Regions from separate parts of the Homo sapiens genome. Here region 2 is linked to region 1. Evidence: promoter capture Hi-C in 16 types of primary human blood cells and fetal thymus (Javierre and others, 2016). All regions are on one chromosome and are shown on one strand. Each heading gives the region's core, a stretch centred on a gene start or on the middle of the fragment in contact. The rest is flanking DNA. Distances are from core to core; before and after follow the strand shown.

Region 1 (5,756 bases), core at 2,834-5,333:
GCTGGTACCCGTTGTTCCTTTCCACATTTAGTGCTTCCTTCAGGAGCTCTTGTAAGGCAGGCCTGGTGGTGACAAAATCTCTCAGCATTTGCTTGTCTATAAAGGATTTTATTTCTCCTTCCCTTGTGAAGCTTAGTTTGGCTGGATATGAAATTCTGCGCTGAAAATTCTTTCCTTTAAGAATGTTGAATATTGGCCCCCACTCTCTTCTGGCTTGTAGGGTGTCTGCCAAGAGATCCACTGTTAGTCTGATGGGCTTCCCTTTGTGGGTAACCTAACCTTTCTCTTTGGCTGCCCTTAACATTTTTTCCTTCATTTCAACCTTGGTGAATCTGATGATTATATGACTTGGGGTTGCTTTTCTCAAGGAATATCTTTGTGGTATTCTTTGTATTTCCTGAATTTGAATCTTGGCCTGTCTTGCTAGGTTGGGAAAGTTTTCCTAGATAATATCCTGAAGAGTGTTTTCTAACTTGGTTCCATTCTCCCCGTCACTTTCCGGTACACCAATCAAATGTAGATTTGGTCTTTTCACATAGTCCCATATTTCTTGGGGGCTTTATTCATTTCTTTTCATTCTTTTTTCTCTAATCTTGTCTTCTCACTTTATTTCATTAATTTGATCTTCAATCACTGATATCCTTTCTTCCATTTGATCTAATCAGCTATTGAAGCTTGTGTATGCTTCATGAAGTTCTCGTGCTGTTTTTTTCAGCTCCCTCAGGTAATTTATGTTTTTCTCTACACTAGTTATTCTTATTCTAGTTAGCCATGCCTCTAACCTTTTTTCAAGGTTCTTAGCTTCCTTGCAATGGGTCAGAACATGCTCCTTTCGCTCGGAGAAGTTTGTTATTACCCACCTTCTGAACCCTACTTCTGTCAATGCATCAAACTCATTCTCCGTCCAGTTTTGTTCCCTTACTGGCGAGGAGTTGTGATCCTTTGGAGGAGAAGAGGCTTTCTGGTTCTTGGAATTTTTAGCCTTTCTGCTCTGGTTTCTCCCCATCTTTGTGGTTTTATCTACCTTTGGTCTTTTATCTACCTTTGGTCTTGATGTTGGTTTTGGTGTGGATGTCCTTTTTGTTGATGTTGATGCTATTCCTTTCTGTTTCTTGGTTTTCCTTCTAACAGTCAGGTCCCTCAGTTTCAGATCTGTTGGAGTTTGCTGGAGGTCCACTCCAGACCCTGTTCGCCTGGGTATCACCAGTGGAGGCTGCAGAACAGCAAATATTGCTGCCTGATCCTTCCTCTGGAAGCTTTGTCCCAGAGGGGCACCCACCAGATGCCAGCAAGAGCTCTCCTTAATGAGGTGTCTCTCAGCCCCTACTGGGAAGTGTCTCCCAGGCAGGCTACATGAGGGTCAGGGACCCACTTAAGGAGGCAGTCCATCCATTATCAGAGCTCGACCACCATGCTGGGTGAGCCACTGCTCTTTTCAGAGGTGTCAGCCAGGGACATTTAAGTCTGGAGAAGCTGTGCCCACAGTTGCCCCTTCCCCCACGTGCTCTGTCCCAGAGGGACGAGGGTTTTATCTGTAACTCCCTGACTGGGGCTGCTGCCTTTTGTTCAGATATGCCGTGCCCACAGAGGTGAAATCTAGAGAGGCAGTCAGCCTTGCTGAGCTTCAGTGGGCTCCGCCCAGTTCCAGTTTCCCGACAGCTTTGTTTACTCTATGAGCATAAAACCACCTACTCAAGCCTCAGCAATGGTGGATGCCCCTCCCCCTGCCAAACTCCAGCGTCCCAGGTCAATTTCAGACTGCTGCCCTTGCAGTGAGAATTTCAAGCCAATGGATCTTAGCTTGCTGGACTCCATGGGCATGGGACCCACTGAGCGAGCCACTGGAGGGAATCTCCTGGTCTGCCAGTTGTGAAGACCATGGGAAAAGCGCAGTATTTGGGCAGAAGCGTACTGTTCCTCCTGGCACAGTCTCTCATGGCTTCCCTTGGCTAGGGAAGGGAAATCCCCTGACACCTTGTGCTTCCCAGGTGAGGCGACGCCCCACCCTCCTTCGGCTAGCCCTCTGTGGGATGCACCCACTGTCCAACCAGTCTCAATGAGATGAACCAGATACCTCAGTTGGAAATGAAGAAATCACCCATCTTCTGCATCGATCTCACTGGGAGCTGCAGACCGGAGTTCCTACTAGGCCATCTTGGAAGAGTCCCTGGTTTTTCTTCTTGTGCTCCCATGTCCTCTTATTTATCACTTTAATGTGATTATTTTTGGTATTTCATTATTAAGTATTATATTGGCTTTGGATTTCTAAAAAATACTTGTTACCAAGTTAAGAAAGTCTGCTTTTCCCTTGGCACACCAGGAATTTTAATCAAAAGTAACGTTAACATTTATAAAATGTCCTTTAGCATCTACCAAGATTACATTAGCATATTTCCTAAATTTGAACAATTTTTGTACTCTTGAATAAATTTGATCAGGTAAAGTGTATTGCTCTTTTAGTATACTGTTGGATTTGATATTTCATAACAGACTTTTTATTTGTGCTTATTAGATAGATTGGCCCATGGTTTTGTGACATATTTATCAGGTTTATTGTATCAAAGTTATGATTTCTATAGCTTTGTAACAATTAAGTACTACAGAACTTAACTATTCGTCAGTATTTGGTAAAAATTTCTGAGAAAATGAACATGGCCCAGAGCCATTTTACAGTATTTTTTTTACAAAAGTTTCAACTTTTCTATGGATATTGATCTATTTTGGCTTCCTATATTTTATTCAGGCAAATTGGTTGTTTGTAGTTTCCTTAAAAATATCTATTTTAAAATTTTATACTCAGAAAAGTACAAAAATTTTATTTAAAAATTATAATTTCCTTTGGTTATACCTTTTCTGTTTTCTAATATTGTATTTGTGTTCTCTTAGGTTTCCTTTGGCTAGACTTGCTAGGGATTGATTGGTTTGTTTTGTTTTTATAACTTTTCAAATACAAGATCACTGTTTTTATCAATAAATTGTAATGTTTGGCTTTCTCATGTTTAAGTCATTGCTTTTACATTCTTTTACTTTCTTTTGATTTATTTTCTTCTTTTTAATTTCCTGAGTTATACATTTATGTTATTTTAAACAAAATTTTTCATAAGGTAAGATTTGGTTACAATTCACAAGATTATATTATGTTATCAGGATTCTTTTTTCCTCTTTGATACAAGAGTTATCTAGAAGACTATTTTTATTTCCAGGTGATTTTTAGAAATGCTTTATTTTGATGCTGATGTCAGTATTTATTGCATGGAGTCAAACATATATTTCCTATACAAAATTATTCATTTTCAAATATATTTCTAATTATACAAGTAGCACATGAATACATTTTTATTGTGAAAGATTTATATAATGTAGACAAAACTATTTCCTCTAACCCCATCTCTAGTGGCAACATTAGTTACTGGCTTATTGTATATCATTTCAGTCTCTTTTCTATTCATCTGTGTCCTCTCACCAGGAACTGGTACCATCCTGTACTTACTGTATGTAGCACACTGATCCATACATGCATAGGCATTGCTCCCACCTGCAGGCTGCTGCCTAGCTTGTGGCTAATACGGGGATATAGAGAAGCCAATTCATCTGGTTGCTCCTGCTGAAGTACACCAACTAATCACCTTCTTGATTACTTCTGATGCACTCCTGCTCATTGTATCTGCCAACCCAGAGCATGAAGTAACTCTTTTATAGAAGTTTTTCCTGCATGCAGTTTGACCATACATTTCTCCTTCAAGTGATTGTGTTTTCATCTTTCAGTTATTCAACATAATTTTGTGTAGTCAGTATTCATTTACAGTTACCAACACATTTACCCATCCAGTATTCTTCATTCCCTCCTTGAATTTCCATCTTTTCAAATGAGATCATTTTTACTTTTGCTAGTAGAAATCCCTTCAGCATTTCAGTGTAAAACTCCTAGCAATAAATTATGTGAATTTTTGTTTTTTGTTTACTTTTTGCTTCTTTTTGTTGCTTGTTTGTTTGAAAATGTCATCATTTAACGTTCATTTCTGAAGATTGTTTTTCACACGTTGGCCTTTAGTTTCTTTCAGTACTCTAGAGATAGCATTCCATTATCTTCTGGCTTCTATTGTTGCTATTAGAGACAGCTGCCAGTCTCATTGTTGCTCTTTTGTAGATAATGTGTCTTTTTTCTTCTGGCTGGTTTTTCCATCTTCTCTGTCTTTGGTTCAGCAGTTTTATTGTGAGTTGCATAATTGTGGTTTTCTCTATACTTATCCTGCTTGAGGGTTTGCTGAGCTTCTTAACCAGTGGGTTAAATGTATTTTATCTGCTTTAGAAAATTCCCAACCATTATCCCTTTGAATATTGCTTCTGCTCTATTTCTTTCTCCTTGCCCTCTGAAACTTCAGTTTTACATGGTAGACCTTTCATACTTGTCCTGTATGTCTCTTACATTTGTTTCTTATTTTTTCTCTTTCTTTTTTTCTTCCATGCTTCACTTTGTATATTTTTCATTGATATGTTTCCAGTTCACAAGTCTTGTATTCAATAGTGTCCAACCTATTGTTAAACTCATATATTGAGTTTTTAAATTTAATTTTGAAATAATTTACTTTGAAATATTTTTATCAGAAAAGTTGCAAGAACAGTAGAATGAACTCCCACATTCTCTTCATCCAGATTCCTCAGTTAATAGTTTCATATTTTCTCCATCTCTTTTTGTAAAGATGATAGATAGATAGATAGATAGATAGATAGATAGATAGATAGATAGATGTGTATTTTCAAGGATATGATACCTTTTTTGAATATTTTGAGAGCAAGTTAAGCAAGTTGAAACCTTTATGTCCTATCATCTGTAAATATTCCTATTACTACTTCTCCCAAAGACACTCTCCTACAGAGTAATTGCCAAGCCTTTCAAATCAGAAAATGGACAGCGATAAATACCAGCATTCAAACCACAGTTCATTATTATCCAACGTTCCAGGCTTATCTTGAAATTTCTCTACCTCCATCCTTGAATCATCCACTTTTACAAGGAGTCCTTGTTGTTTGTTATGGAAATTGGAACCTACATACTTGTTATTAATTGCTACTGGGGTGTCATTGCACCTAGGTCCTCTCCATGGTCAGAATTTTGAAATATATGTATGTATTCATGGATATGTACACAGACATATTCACTTGCATTGATAATTTTTTTTGTTTCTTTCCTCCCTTCCCTTTCACTCTTTCCTTCTTTCCTTCCTTTTGCTCTTTCCTTCCTTCCTTCTTCCTTCTTACCATAACAATAGCAATGAGTTATTTTTTTCGCTTCCCCTTTTCATATTTGTAAATTTGTTTTCCCACAGAGAGAAATCCAGCTTCCATTAGCTTCAATATAGATACTTTCTTGATCAATCCTCCTTTACATAATTAATTTCCTAAAAATGCTAGGTACTGCCATGGCCAACTCATCACTCCTGATTTCATCTCCAGGCAAGTTGTCACTTTTGAACTCTTCTCCCCACCAAACCCTGGTCTGTTTGATATGCCACTGCCTCCATGCCCCTGTCTCCACCTTCTGGCTGTTAGACACATTGTTAACTGTGCACCCCAACTTACTCTTACCTTCACCTCCCTGGTGCTTCTTCTGCTGAGCATACAACTGCCACCATATGTACCCCCTATACATGCTTCCTTGGACACCAGGCACTCTGCTGCCTCCACATGGCTTTCCCATTATGACTTCTTTTGCCCCTATGCACATCACTATCTGTATGCCCGCCACCCTACTTTCT
Region 2 (5,628 bases), core at 644-3,143, 540 kb before region 1:
GGTACAAGGCAATAATACACAGTGCAGTGTTGAGGAAAATGAGGACTTTATTGATTAGACCAGTTGGCTTCCAACCTCTTCATTACTCATTTCTACTTGTAGAAAGTGTTTGAGTATGCATGCCTCTCTATATATATTTATTTCCTTAGAAACAATGCATATATACTATTGTCTAGATACATTAAAATCAGTGAAGATTACTTTTTCCTTGTAGGTAAAAATAAGTATAAATAGAAAACCTAATACTTTTTCCATACCTTACTGGATCACCTTGTGTAATTCTTAGGGTGCACACACCTGCATAAAAAATGACTAGCTGTGAGCATTTTGCAAGGTATTCACAGAAAGAATATTTTTTCTCCTGTTCACAGCATGGCCTAGATTTGTTCCAGAAATGAGTGGCACTTTTAAGCAAGGATGAAAATGGGAGCAAAGTGTGTTCTAGAAACTGAACGAAGAAAATGCTTCCTAGACCTTTGATTAAAGGAGGACATTATATCAAGCTTAGTAAATCTAGATCAGGATTTCTCAAGTGTGATCTGTGGACCACTGGCATCAGAATGACTTGGGGAGATTTTAATGTAAACTGACTCCTGGGTCCCACCCAAGGCTCACTGAAGCAGAATATCTGGAAAAGGAGACAGGGAAACTGTAATAAGCTGAGTCTTTTTATCACTAAAGTTTAAAAACAAGCAATCTAAAAAATGGAGACTTCAAATGGTCAAACCAAAATTTTATGTATTTTATGAAAAGCTAAGGTGTCACAGAGATGACAGATATGTTAATACGGCTGGTTGCATTGGAGAATCCATTAGTCATAGACAATATAGAATTTATGAAAAATACTTACTTTCATTGTTTAGTTTTGCTAAGGAGAGGAAAATTTGCTATTTGGATCCTCACTCAAAGAATATTTTCTCTGAGAGTAGTGAATCCATTTACAATTAAGGTTATACTTCTTTTTTCTACAGACTATATGCCACATTATGCAGGAAAGTGGTTTTTGAGTCTTTGAGGACAACTTGCTCTCCAGGTAAATGAGTATAGACAAGAGTGATGCCCAATGAACAGTTCTGTGCAATAATTGTTAATATGGCTTAATCTTTAGTTGATGGCCCTTGTCACAGTTTTGGATGTTCTAGTTCAGTTATCTTATTCTTCTCTAAGACCAGTCATACAAGAGATAACTCAATTAGAACCAAAATTTCTGAATGATCCATTCTATCAGTGCATTTCATTACATATTGAAACTTCCACTCAAAGTTACAAACTAATATTTTACCATACATTAAAAAGAAACTGGATATTAGTTTATGCTGCTGTGCATGACACCATGACACAGTTCCAATTTGTATCCAAAAGCACCCTGATTGAATTGGAACACAAGAGCTTGTTTGTGGCTTAGAGGCCCCAGCTAAAGATATAGTTATTGAGTTTTAAAAAACTGAATGAGGGAATTGTTTTTAAAATCACATTTCTATTCCCTCCAAATGGAAACAATCTTCTTTTAAATTCTCATGACACTTTATGTATAACTCTCCTATAGTACATATTACTTTCCCACTGGTATCAATATACACACATCCCTGGAGAGAACTCTGTGATGATCCATGCTTTACAGGGGCAACATATGGCTTCATTCATCATCTCTGCTGAATAGTACCTTAAGAGACAAGTCTCAAAGGTAGCTATTTAATATTAAATGAGCTCTAAACACCTTCTCAAGACTCAGAGAGAGGCAATTCATACCTGCAAATATAGTACCTGCTTTTAGTTCTCATTTCTGACCCTCTAAGTTCTTATCATGGACCACAACTCTGTACCACCTAAGGCAAGGACCCAGTACCTTCCACATCACTCATTGTTTTAGGCCTTAATTGCAAACAACTAGTTAATATTTACTATGTTCATTTATATAGTTGAGGAAACTGATGCTTGTAGAATTTAAACAAGTTGCTCAGAGTCACACAACTTTAAACAGAAGGAGCCAATCTTTCAGACCAGATCTATTAGACCCAAGAGCCTAAGACAATGACTGTATTCCATCTGCCCTCCATTGTGGATTCTTGTCTATTTCTCCATTCCGGTCTCTGTCAAGTTCCTACATTTATATAACAAAAGCAAAATACATTTACAATATATTTATATATTTAAAAGATTTAACAATAGACCATAATGCTTGTTAAGAGAATATATTATTTATTAATTAAGCTATGCATTACCTTGGTTTATTCATATAAAGAGTGAAGAACTTTGGCTAAACTAATCAATCATGGAGAGACATTATGTTGTACCGCAGTGCCACAGTACTTGAGCATTTCAAGGGAATTTCTACGTAAAGTTCAAATATTTTTGGAAATAATTATAAGTATTATTTGTTAAGCATCAATTATATGTCCGGCATTGTACTATTTAGTTTCAGACATAATTAGACTCCAAAGAGACAGGGGCTAACAATGCCTATTTTAAATAAAAGAAAGCAAAGACCCAGGATAAAAGATGGTAGGTTTCTTGCCCCACGTAGCAGTTAGGAAGCAACTCTCAAATCTTTCTTCCTCCAAAGCCTTGTCCCTTCCATTAAACTACATTTCCTCATTCATATGTTCTCTGCTACCTTCCATCTAAATTCCTCCCTTTAAAAGGTGGAAAAAGATGCCATATCTGAACATTTATTACACATGAAGTCTCATAGCTCTCCTGTGCTCTCAACTTGCTATGTTGAAGAAGCTCAGTAAATCTTTTGTTTGCATCTACTTCCCTTTGACTAGGGCTGACATTTCTGAATTAGCTGGGCATCTAACACCTGAGTTAATCTAGTAATATTGTTCTACTCTATCTTTTTCTCTCTGACACATACTCCCAAATATTTATAATTCTGTGTTCCCCCATGAATGTGCAGCTACTTGTCTTTCTCTTGTTCTATTTTTAAAACTCATTTTTTCTGCTGATTCTTTCCTGATTGCATATCTTTATTTCACAAATATTGGCATTCTCCTCAGCACTAATACTGATGAAAACATACAGCACGAAACACATTGACAGCCTCCTTCCCATCACCTGGCCGGGAGAGGAGTCCACACAGCTTAAGCAAAATCCATTCTAGGGCTCAAGGAACACTGGCCACATAACAGCTTAATAATTCAAGCCCCTGGCAACCACACAACTAGAATGAGTTGTTATTTTCCCAAAGGGATTCAAATTATGCTTAACATGCATCACACAGGGAAGTATTTTACTGAATTCTCTCCTCTCTGACTGTGACCAAGAAAAAATAGAGGGGAAGAAAAGCTTGCTATTTTCGTGCTGGTGAAGGCTATATTTGGAGAGGAAGCTTGCGTTCTATTGGAGGCTAATTCTGGAGAAGATTACAGTGGAAATTAAGGATAACTAAGATGGAGGGCATTAAGGACATAAAATTTAAAATGTTATTTTCACCTATCAACAGCCACACCAGGAAGCACTAACACCAGCTATGTCACACTCCTTCAATGGCCTTTTGAAGATGCTATAGATTCTATATTAAAGACACAAGGCATTCACCAGTTTAAACATTCCCTTCCCTCATTTGGAAAACTGAAGTCTACTTTTTAAATATCATGCTTGCTTTGGAGAAAATGAAATATCCTGAGATGATAAATGAACAACAATTTACCACCTGAAGAAACAAGCCACACTGCCGCCAGAGCATTTTTCAGGAGAGGCGGAACATCCATTGATCATGCATATTTACTCCTGACATACCCAGACCACCTGTAAATCTCCTGGTCTGGACTGGAAAATAAAAAATGTTTGCCACACCGTTACACTTCTTCCAGATGAATGCTAACACTGTATGAACAGCACTTTACTTCGGAACAGATTTAACACTGAGGTTAACTGTTTTTTGTCTGTGAGAGGTGGAGGCAAGTGTTTTCTGTTCAGGACTTTATTGATGGAGAACTATGGGCCATGCAGGTATGATGGTGACTGTAGGAGTTTTTGAAATACGCGGTAGGTCCTTTTCCTCAATTAATAATAACACTTCTGAAATCAAAAGTGATATATATTCATTGCAGAAAGCTAGAAAATTTAGACAAGTGAAAAAAGAAAAGAAAAAAAATAAGACCAAAATCCACCTATGATTCCAACACATAGAGGAAATTACGTGACACTTTGATATATATCCTTCCAGGAAATTTTTCTATGCACAAATTCTATATTTTTCCCCAAATAAATATTAAACATATGATTGGTAAACAATATTTTAATGTAAATGTGTATCATGAATATACATCACATAATTAAATATGCATATTATTTTATTCATTAATTTCAATGTATGTATAGTATTTAATAAATATTTTAATATAATTTCTTCTTTTTAAAAATTTTAAGATTGGGGTACATGTGCAGGTTTGTTATATAGGTAAACTTGTGTCATGGGAGTTTGTTATACAGATTATTTCATCACCCCAGTACTAAGCCTAGTACCCAATAGTTATGTTTTCTACTGTTTTCCTTCCTCTCATCCTCCACCCTCATGTAGGCCCCCATGTTTGTTTTTCCCTTCTATGCGTCAATGTATTCTCATCACTTAGCTCCCATTTATAAGTAAGAACACGCAATATTGGGTTTTCTGTTTCTGCATTAGTTTGCTAAGAATTATGGCCTCTACCTCCATCCATGTTCTTGCAAAGGAAATGATCTTGTTCTTTTTTATGGCTGCATAGTATTCCATGGTGTATATGTACCACAGTTTCTTATCCAATCTACCACTGATGGGCATTTAGGTTGATTGCGTGTCTTTGCTACTGTGAATAGTGCTGCAATGAACATACATGTGTATGTGTCTTTATGATAGAACCATTTATATTCCTTTGGGTATGTACCCACTAATGAAATTGCTGTGTTGAATGGTAGTTCTGTTTTCAGTTCTTTGAGGAACTGCCGCACTGCTTTCCACAATGGTTGAAACAATTTACACCCCCACCAACCATTAACAGAGTATAAGCATTCCCTTTTCTTCACAACCTCTCCAGCATCTGTTATTTTTTGACTTTTTGATAGTAGCCACTCTGACTGGTGTGAGATGGTATCTCATTGTGATTTTGATTGGCATTTCACTAATAATCAGTGATGTTGAGCTTTTTTTCATATGCTTGTTGACTACATGTATGTCTTTTTTTGAAAAGTGTCTGTTCATGTCTTTTGCCCACTTTCTAATGGAGCTTGTTGTTTTGTTTTGTTTGGTAAATTTCTTTAAGTTCCTGAGAGATGCTGGATATTAGACATTTGTCAGATGCATAGTTTGCAAAAATTTTCTCCCATTCTGTAGGTTATCTGTTTACTCTGTTGATAGTTTCTTTTGCTGTACATAAGCTCTTTAACTAGATCCCATTTGTCAATTTTTGCTTTTGTTGCAATTTCTTTTGAATGTTTTCATCATGAAATCTTTGCCAGTTTCTATGTCCAGAATGGTATTGCCTAGGTTGTCTTCCAGGGTTTTTATAGTTTTGGGTTTTACATTTAAGTCTTTCATCCATCTTCAGTTGATTTTTGCATGTGGTGTAAGTAAGGGGTCCAGTTTCAATCTTCTGCATATGGCTAGTCAGTTATCCCAGCACCATTTGCTGAATAGGGAGTTCTTTC

What was found. Contacts are between HindIII fragments. The CHiCAGO score rates a contact against its expected background, and 5 or more counts as called.
Region 2: a fragment that was not itself captured here is called in contact with the fragment with the promoter of LINC01277 in region 1 in 1 of 17 cell types (fetal thymus); the score reaches 6.1 in fetal thymus.

What each region holds. Positions count from the first base shown.
Region 1 is chr6:143,033,499-143,039,254 of GRCh38, forward strand. LINC01277 (long intergenic non-protein coding RNA 1277) reads right to left here and starts at 4,084. Exons shown (of 3, transcript NR_038987.1): 1 at 3,491-4,084. RefSeq lists an enhancer at 1,460-1,629. The HindIII fragment of the contact is 5,129 bases long and covers 1,255-5,756 here.
Region 2 is chr6:142,497,294-142,502,921 of GRCh38, forward strand. No RefSeq gene overlaps it. Among named protein-coding and RNA genes, the nearest start is that of ADGRG6, 200 kb to the left of the region's middle. The HindIII fragment of the contact is 2,785 bases long and covers 502-3,286 here.